Linked DNA regions of Homo sapiens: region 2 is linked to region 1. The links are contacts of gene promoters, found by promoter capture Hi-C in blood cells and fetal thymus (Javierre and others, 2016). All regions are on one chromosome and are shown on one strand. The core of a region is centred on a gene start or on the middle of the fragment in contact, and the rest is flanking DNA. Distances in the headings are between cores, read along the strand shown. Region 1 holds the start of H1-7 (H1.7 linker histone). Region 2 has its middle 17 kb from the start of ANP32D.

Region 1 (3,972 bases), core at 536-3,035:
CCAGCCTGGCCAACATGGCAAAACCTCGTCTCTACCAATATATAAATAAATAAGGGCCAGGCGCAGTGGCTCACGCCTGTAATCCCAGCACTTTGGGAGGCCAAGGTGGGTGGATCACCTGAGGTCAGGAGTCTGAGACCAGCTTGGCCAACCAGCCTGGTGAAACCCCATCTCCACTAAAAATACTAAGATTAGCTGGGCATGGTAGCAGGAACCTGTAATCCTAGCTACTTGGGAGGCTGAGGCACGAGAATCACTTGAACCCAGGAGGCGGAGGTTGCAGTGAGCCGAGATTGCACCACTGCACTCCAGCCTGGGCAACAGAGTGAGACTTTGTCTCAAAAAAAAAAAAAAAAAATTAGCTGGATGTGGTGGCACATGCTTGTAATCCCAGCTTCTTGGGAGGGTGAGACACAGGAATTGCTTGAACCCAGGAGGTGGAGGTTACAGTGAGCCAAGATTGTGCCATTACATAGCCTGGGCTGAGCAAGACTCTGTCTCAAAAAAAAAAAAAAAAAGCACTGGTCTAAGCTACTTCCTGGAGCTTTGATTTTTAAAAGAAACTGTCACTGTCTAGCCTGTGACTGATGAATGTATGTGATTGCCCTCTGGAAAAGTATGATATGCTTGGCAATTTGAAGTATTCTTAGAATAATACTTTAAATTATTCCCAACTAAACTGTGTCCAAAATAGGTCCTTGATAAGCTAATCCTTACTTGGCCCCCTTCATTTCCAACCCTTTGAAATTCACTCTGCTCCTTTCTCCTGATCTTCTGGAAGTTTCTTTCTGAATCTAGAGAAACTCTCCTCACCAGAGAGGAATGATGTAAGCAGGCTCAATTAAATGCCCGCTGTGTATAATGAAGCATATTGTTAGGTGCAGCATGGGACATAGAAGTTCAAAGACTATAGCTCTTGAGGATATCTTTATTTAGTTGGAAATACAAGACAGAAACATTCAAAGTAAAGTAAATTTATTCCTTATATTTAGGTAGCCCTTGTTCATCTACCTCTTCTGAAATTTTGCAATAATTCTGTGATGTTGGTAGGAAGGGAATGTGATGTTAGATAAGAAGTCAGATGGCCGGCACATCCATCTGACAGCCACACCACTGATATTAAGGGATTTGTTAATGTCATATGGCTCCTAAAGAGCTAGGATATGCATCCATATCTTCCAGCTCCAAGTACGAGTTTTTTTCTTTTTAAAAAATATTGTGTCACATTATACCCTCTAATGCCAAATTCATTTAAAATAAAGAAAAAGCCATATAAGATTGCAGAAGTAATTTTGGTGGTTGTGGTAGTTAAGAGGCAAGAAATCATTTGAAAGAGTTTGGGGAGTCTTCAGTGAAGAAGGATAATGTAGCAGTACCTTGAAAGATGAGCAGGACTTATCTGGGCAGACAAAGAGGATGAGAAATCCAAGAGAGGGGATGAGATGGAAAAAAACACAGTATGTTCAAAGAATAATGATTAGACCAGTATCCTCAGGCGATGTGAAATCTAGATTGTTTCAGTACAGTTGAATGCGTCATCTAAATTTCCCAGGTGTGGGAATCAGTGTTTAGGGTAGAGGGATCACACAATTGGTTCCTTTTTTACTTCATGCTCTTGCACAGAATCCACTGTGTAGAATTAGGGAGACATGACTTCAGATACCTGACTGGTGGAATTAAAGGTGGGAGTTTCTAATCTGGGTTGTGTTTCATGGACTACCCCGTGTACTTTCTACAGGCAGTGTGTTGCTTGTTTTGGATAGTTGGGAGCAGCTTCGCTCACCTTAAGGAACTGTGGGTAGATGGTTTGCAGGACCACATACACACACAAAATAGCCGACTAAAGAAAGCGGTGGAGATCGAGATCAGTAAGTTTGATTTGGGAACAAAACCCTGGAGACTCTATAGGTAGGTGACTGTTGGGGGTGGACAGGCGCTGAAGACTTGGATTGGTTTAGACCTAGAAGGAAGTGGCATTTGATTGGTTATTATAAGTGAAAAGGGCCCCTCCCCGGGTGAGATATGCCAGCCCCATAATTAGGACCTGAAAATCTCTGCCAGGCCTGCCTTTGTGACGTGGCCCAGTCTACCTCAGCTATGGAACAGGCCTTGACTGGTGAGGCCCAAAGCCGGTGGCCCCGCAGAGGCGGGAGTGGGGCCATGGCTGAGGCGCCTGGGCCCAGTGGCGAATCCCGAGGACACTCAGCCACTCAGCTGCCAGCGGAAAAAACTGTCGGGGGACCATCGAGGGGCTGCTCAAGCTCCGTGCTCAGAGTGTCCCAGTTGGTGCTCCAGGCCATCTCCACTCACAAAGGGCTGACTCTGGCAGCTCTCAAGAAGGAGCTCCGAAACGCCGGCTACGAAGTGCGCAGGAAGAGCGGCCGCCACGAAGCGCCCAGGGGGCAGGCCAAGGCCACGCTCCTCCGGGTCAGCGGCAGCGACGCCGCCGGCTACTTCAGGGTCTGGAAGGTTCCCAAGCCCAGGAGAAAGCCGGGACGCGCGAGGCAAGAGGAGGGCACGCGCGCTCCCTGGAGGACCCCAGCCGCGCCCCGGAGCTCCCGGAGGCGCCGCCAGCCCCTTCGCAAGGCGGCCAGGAAGGCCAGAGAAGTGTGGAGACGGAACGCGAGGGCGAAAGCCAAGGCCAATGCCAGGGCGAGGAGGACCAGGAGGGCAAGGCCGAGAGCCAAGGAGCCGCCGTGTGCCAGAGCCAAGGAGGAAGCGGGAGCGACAGCGGCAGACGAGGGGCGAGGACAGGCCGTGAAGGAAGACACCACGCCGAGGTCAGGGAAGGACAAGAGGCGAAGCTCCAAGCCCAGGGAAGAGAAGCAGGAGCCCAAGAAGCCCGCACAGCGGACCATCCAGTAGCCAACGCGGGCTAAAACCGACCGGACATCTAGCGGGCAGGGGAAGACTCCACTAAAGACTTCCACAAAGACCTCCCCTAAATCTGAAGGTCTTCCTGATCCAGTTGGGAATGCATCTTGTGGGAGCAGCTTCACTCCCACCACGGACCAATGCCTTTCCCCCATAGGCCCCAAGAAGAGCGGCTGTCACACTCATTGAAATGAAATGGACCTCTAGACCACCTTGTGTCTGTTTCCTCTTTGCCGCACCTGGAAGGGAAGGGGTGGGTGGTGGTAACGTTCAGTGAAGACAGTAAATTAGCTGAGATTCTGTTCCTGCTGCAGAACTCAGAGAAATGTCTTTTAGAAGGAGAGAAAACAGAGGAAAACCAGCAGCTTAACAAGTGTTGAAGTATTGTTAGATACTCTAGCAAATCCAAATTGAGTTCTGGGGAGGAAGGCATGTTGGGAAAAGAGTAGACAGTCTTTAAGTTGAGTGGTCCCACTGATTCAAAGTGTTCTTACCTGAAATTCCTTTTAGGACAAAGTCCTCCCAAAATTGATTATAATGAGTTTGTAGTTTTTGCCTTGAATTGATAACCTATTTTAATTTAAAAGATATTCTTATGTCAATCCTCAGTTAAATAAGTGTATGAAAGCATCCAGCATAGGGCCTGGCATAGGATAGGTACTCATCACTGAGAGTTAAATATGTGTATAATTAATTCCCGATGGAGTGGTAATGTGCTATAGCAGAAAACTGCTGGACCACTATGTAGTAAGACCAAGATTCTAGTCAAAGTTCTGCTAGTCTGACCTTTGCTGAGTTATTTCTTAACCATTCATGGTCTTGGTTTTCTTCTCAGTAAAATGTTGGGATTGAGCTAAGATGATTTCTAGGTGATTTAAATGTCAGTAAAATGAAAAGGGGACTTAAACATCATGGCATAATGGTTTTCTTGACAAAATTCAGCAATAAGGAAATTATCTTCTGAGAAAGTGCCAACTCCTAAAGAGGAAATTATGAAGATTGACAGATTGCATAGCACAAATACAAGGAGATGGAGAAGGCTAGATAATGAATAGGTCTTTTGCTTTTCTTAACAATAACAACATGTATTGAGCACTG
Region 2 (3,972 bases), core at 858-3,357, 130 kb after region 1:
GGGGATGGGAAGAGGGAGAGGATCAGGAAGAATGGCTAGTGGATGCTGAGCTTAATACCTGGGTGATGAGATGATCTGTGCAGCAAACCACCATGGCAAGTGTTTACCTATGCAACAAACCTGCACATCCTGCACATGTATCCCTGAACTTAAAGTAAAAGTTGGAAATAAATAAATGTGTATATATATACACATACATATATATACACATATATATACATATATATACACATATACACATATATATGTGTATATTCATGTTCTGATATTCAAAGAAACTAATTTGCCCAGTGCCTCACAGCTAGAAATTTAAAGATAATGAAGAGCCAGGATTTATCCTCAAGTTTATTTAAACCTAAGGTATCTTTTAAAGAATAAAACAAAATATTTTGCACATTGCCTGTATCAAACACACACACACAATATATATGAAACATATAAGCATAATATCATATATCTATATTCATCTATCTACCTACCTATCCATATCCATATACATGTAATCGTTCACAGCTCATTTATTCTGACCTTGAGAAAACAAAGAAGGTGATATTTTACTTCTCAACCAAACTGAAAAAAGAAGTGCCTTCTTTTGATTTAGATTCATTGTACTTGAAGCCTTCTGTAACTTTGGAGCATCAGGATACCATGAGGTCAGGGAACTCCTGTTATTGTTGAAAAATAAATCAGGGGCTCTAAATTATAGGAAGGAAAATCAAGACAGTTCTCTCTCTCTCTCTCTTTTTTTGTTTGTTTTTTTTTTTTTTTTTTTTGAGACGGAGTCTCACTCTGTTGCCAGGCTGGCGAGAAGTCGTGCGATCTCAGCTCACTGCAACCTCTGCCTCCTGGGTTCAAGTGATTCTCCTGCCTCAGCCTCCTAAGTAGCTGGGACTACAGGCATACACCACCACATCCAGTTAATTTTTTTTGTATTTTTACTAGAGACAGGGTTTCACCATGTTGGCCAGGATAGTCTCCATCTCCTGACGTCGTGATCTGCCCACCTCGGCCTCCCAAAGTGCTGGGATTACAGACTTGAGCCACCGCACCCGGCCAAGACTGTTCTTTAATTCGATTAATCAGATTGGACAGGCTGCATAGTCATTTTTACCTGACATAGAAAAAAGATGAAGACTATCACAAACTGCAGGCAGATTAGAAAGGCCTAGGAGATGTGGGGTTTGCCTGAGCAGGTCTGATTGCTAAGAATAAAGCCTGTGGCCTGCTTTCTGTCCTCCTGCCCCTTCTTCTCTATCTCTTTCCTTCTTTATTTAATGCAGCCTCAGAGGAAAGTTATGCAGCATAAAATAAGTGTTAAAAGAAAAATGCAAAATTATACTTTGACTCTCTTTTTAAGATTGAAATTATTTCTTTGTAACATAAATTCCAAGTATCATATTTTACAAATACTGTTGGGTAACTATAGTAACTTAGTAAATGAAATATGCAAAGCTTAAGGTTGTAAGTCTAGGGAAGGCATTAGAATAAATATGCCAGCATCTTCAGACCTTACAGCTAGGACACTACTGCTTCCTTGTGGCTCAACTTTAGAATGACAAGTTTTGACTACTGCAAGTTTCTTCAAATCATAGGGGCTTCCTTTTGGGTTTGTTTTTCCTTCCAACTTTTAGGTTCAGAGGGTACCTGTGCAGGTTTGTTATGTGGGTAAATTGCGTGTCACTGGAGTTTGGTGTACAAATGATTTCATCATCCAGGTAGTGAGCATAGTACCAGACAGGCAGTTTTTCAATCCCATCCTCCAACCTCAAGTAGGCCCCAGTGTCTATTGTTCTCCTCTTTGTGTCCCTGTGTACTCAATGTTTACCTCCCACTTATAAATAAGAACATGCACGATTTGGTTTTCTGTTCCTGTATTAGTTCATTTAGGATAATGGCCACCAGCTGCATCCATGTTGCTCCAAAAGCCATGATTTTATTCTTTTTGATGGCAGCATAGTATTCTATGGTGTATATATACCACATTTTCTTTTTCCAGTCCACTGTTAATGGGCATCTAGGTTGATTCCATGTCTTTGCTATTGTGAAAAGCGCTGTGATGAACATATGCATACATATGTCTTTATGGTCAAATCAGAGTTTTGACTGCCAATTTTAAGCAGCTCACCAAACCCATGGCTTGGGATGCAGACAGAGTTGTTACAGATCTCAGAGAAACGTCAGCAGAACAGCAGTCTTTGTCAGAGACACAACCATATTCAGCCAAGTTTTTCTTTCAGATCTTCCAGGTTTTGGAGCAGAGAGGCTGAAGAAAAGATTTAAATAACAAGAAAACCTGGAGTTGAGCAGCACCTAAAGATCAGTGAGCAGCTCCAACATGATTGTACAGAAGAGCTAACAGGCACTGGAAGTCTAGAGAACAGGCAGAGATACCCCCTGCACTGTGTAAAATTATGAAAAATGTATCCATGAGGTAAGATTTGATACATACACATAAATGATCAAAATCTGTCCTTCATTGTCTGTTTGACAGTGAATAAGTTTCTTCGCCTTCTATTACTCAGTTGCCTTATTTATAGAACACTAACAATCATAGTAACTACTCAGTGAATTTTCACAATGGTTAAATAGTGATAATAATTAAAAAATAACGTGATTGAATCCTTACCATGTGCCATACGCTATTTTAAGTGTTTTACACTGATTATCTCATTTCTTCTCACAAAAAGTATAAGAGCATATAAAGCTCTTAGCTAATATTATGTCAGTAGTTTGTACTCAATAAATTATCATTTAAAAGTCTGTAAAGCTTTCTCTATATCTCAACGAAGTAGGGAAAACACATTTTTTAAGCAGCTCAGCCAACAACAATTGTTTTCCAGGCACTGTATTGGGCCCTGGGTATATAAAGACGAGTAGGAGAGAGTCTCTGCCTTTAAGACACTCACACTGTAATGAGGAATAAAGTTATACTGACAGCTGTAATGCAGTATAGTAAGTTATACTCTACCAGTGTGACAAGATTGCTATGGGAGTTCAGAGGAGGAAAAATTCAAGCTGTATCAAGTGGTCAGGGAAATAGTTACAGGAAAGATACCATTTGACCCTGCCTTATCTAGAGAAGCAAGTCTTAGAACGAGGAGTGGCAGAAGTCTTCCCGGCAGAGGAACCAGTTTAGTAAAGGAAGAGAGATGTGAACAGGTAGCATTTGAGATTAAGATCATGGACTCTGGAGCCAAAGAGGGTTAAATTTGAATCCCAACTCTGCTCCTCGCCTGCCGTGACCTTGGGAAAGCTATTTCTCTTTGTTTCTTTGCCTGGAAAATGGCTTTGACAATTGTTCTCCATGTTAGGTTGGTTGTGAGGATGAAATGAGATGTTCACATAACATTTAGCATATTGTCTAGCCCATTAGTGCTGTGTTATTATTAATATATTTCCCTCTGTCTAGGTTCTCATCAGTTGAAAAAACTGAACTATCTGTTAATTATCAGCTTTTTTCTTCTTTGGCAAGCAGAATAAACCACATTAAATGCACACATCAATTGTAAGAAGCAGCTGAATCTCAGAAACACCAAAGTACGAAAAGTGTGCATCTTCAAATCAAGGAAAGCATATTATCACCATTATGAGGACCAGTCTGCCAAGAATCTTTCATAGGATGCTGAATATTTAGATGTGATCCTACTGTTAAAATCTTTCCTTTCTTGGTGGTTTCTAGATACTTTGTAGCTCCTAAATCATGCATTAAGTTTAGTGTGTAGTTACTTGTGTCTGTCTCCCCTATTAATATGTGGTCTCTGTGTAATATGTCCCCAGCACATCGTGGGTAATCCATAGACTATGAAATTAAATGGAATCAGACCAAGCTGGGGGTGGTATAGAGTGAGAGGTGACCGTAGGGCCCCAGGCCCGAACTCAGAAGAATGGGCCGTAAGCTTGGTGCCAAATGAATGCAACAAGCAGTTTTTTGTTGTTGTTGTTGGTGGTGGTGGTGGTGGTGGTGGTGGTTTT

Evidence for each region. Contacts are between HindIII fragments. The CHiCAGO score rates a contact against its expected background, and 5 or more counts as called.
Region 2: a contact is called between a fragment that was not itself captured here and the fragment with the promoter of H1-7 in region 1, in 1 of 17 cell types (megakaryocytes). The highest score is 7.6, in megakaryocytes.

What each region holds. Positions count from the first base shown.
Region 1 is chr12:48,327,195-48,331,166 of GRCh38, forward strand. H1-7 (H1.7 linker histone) reads left to right here and starts at 1,786. Exons shown (of 1, transcript NM_181788.1): 1 at 1,786-3,085. The coding sequence starts at 2,098. The coding sequence ends at 2,865. RefSeq lists an enhancer at 2,544-3,043. The HindIII fragment of the contact is 4,449 bases long and covers 1-3,972 here.
Region 2 is chr12:48,453,344-48,457,315 of GRCh38, forward strand. It overlaps a transcript of C12orf54 not described here. Among named protein-coding and RNA genes, the nearest start is that of ANP32D, 17 kb to the right of the region's middle. The HindIII fragment of the contact is 1,315 bases long and covers 1,451-2,765 here.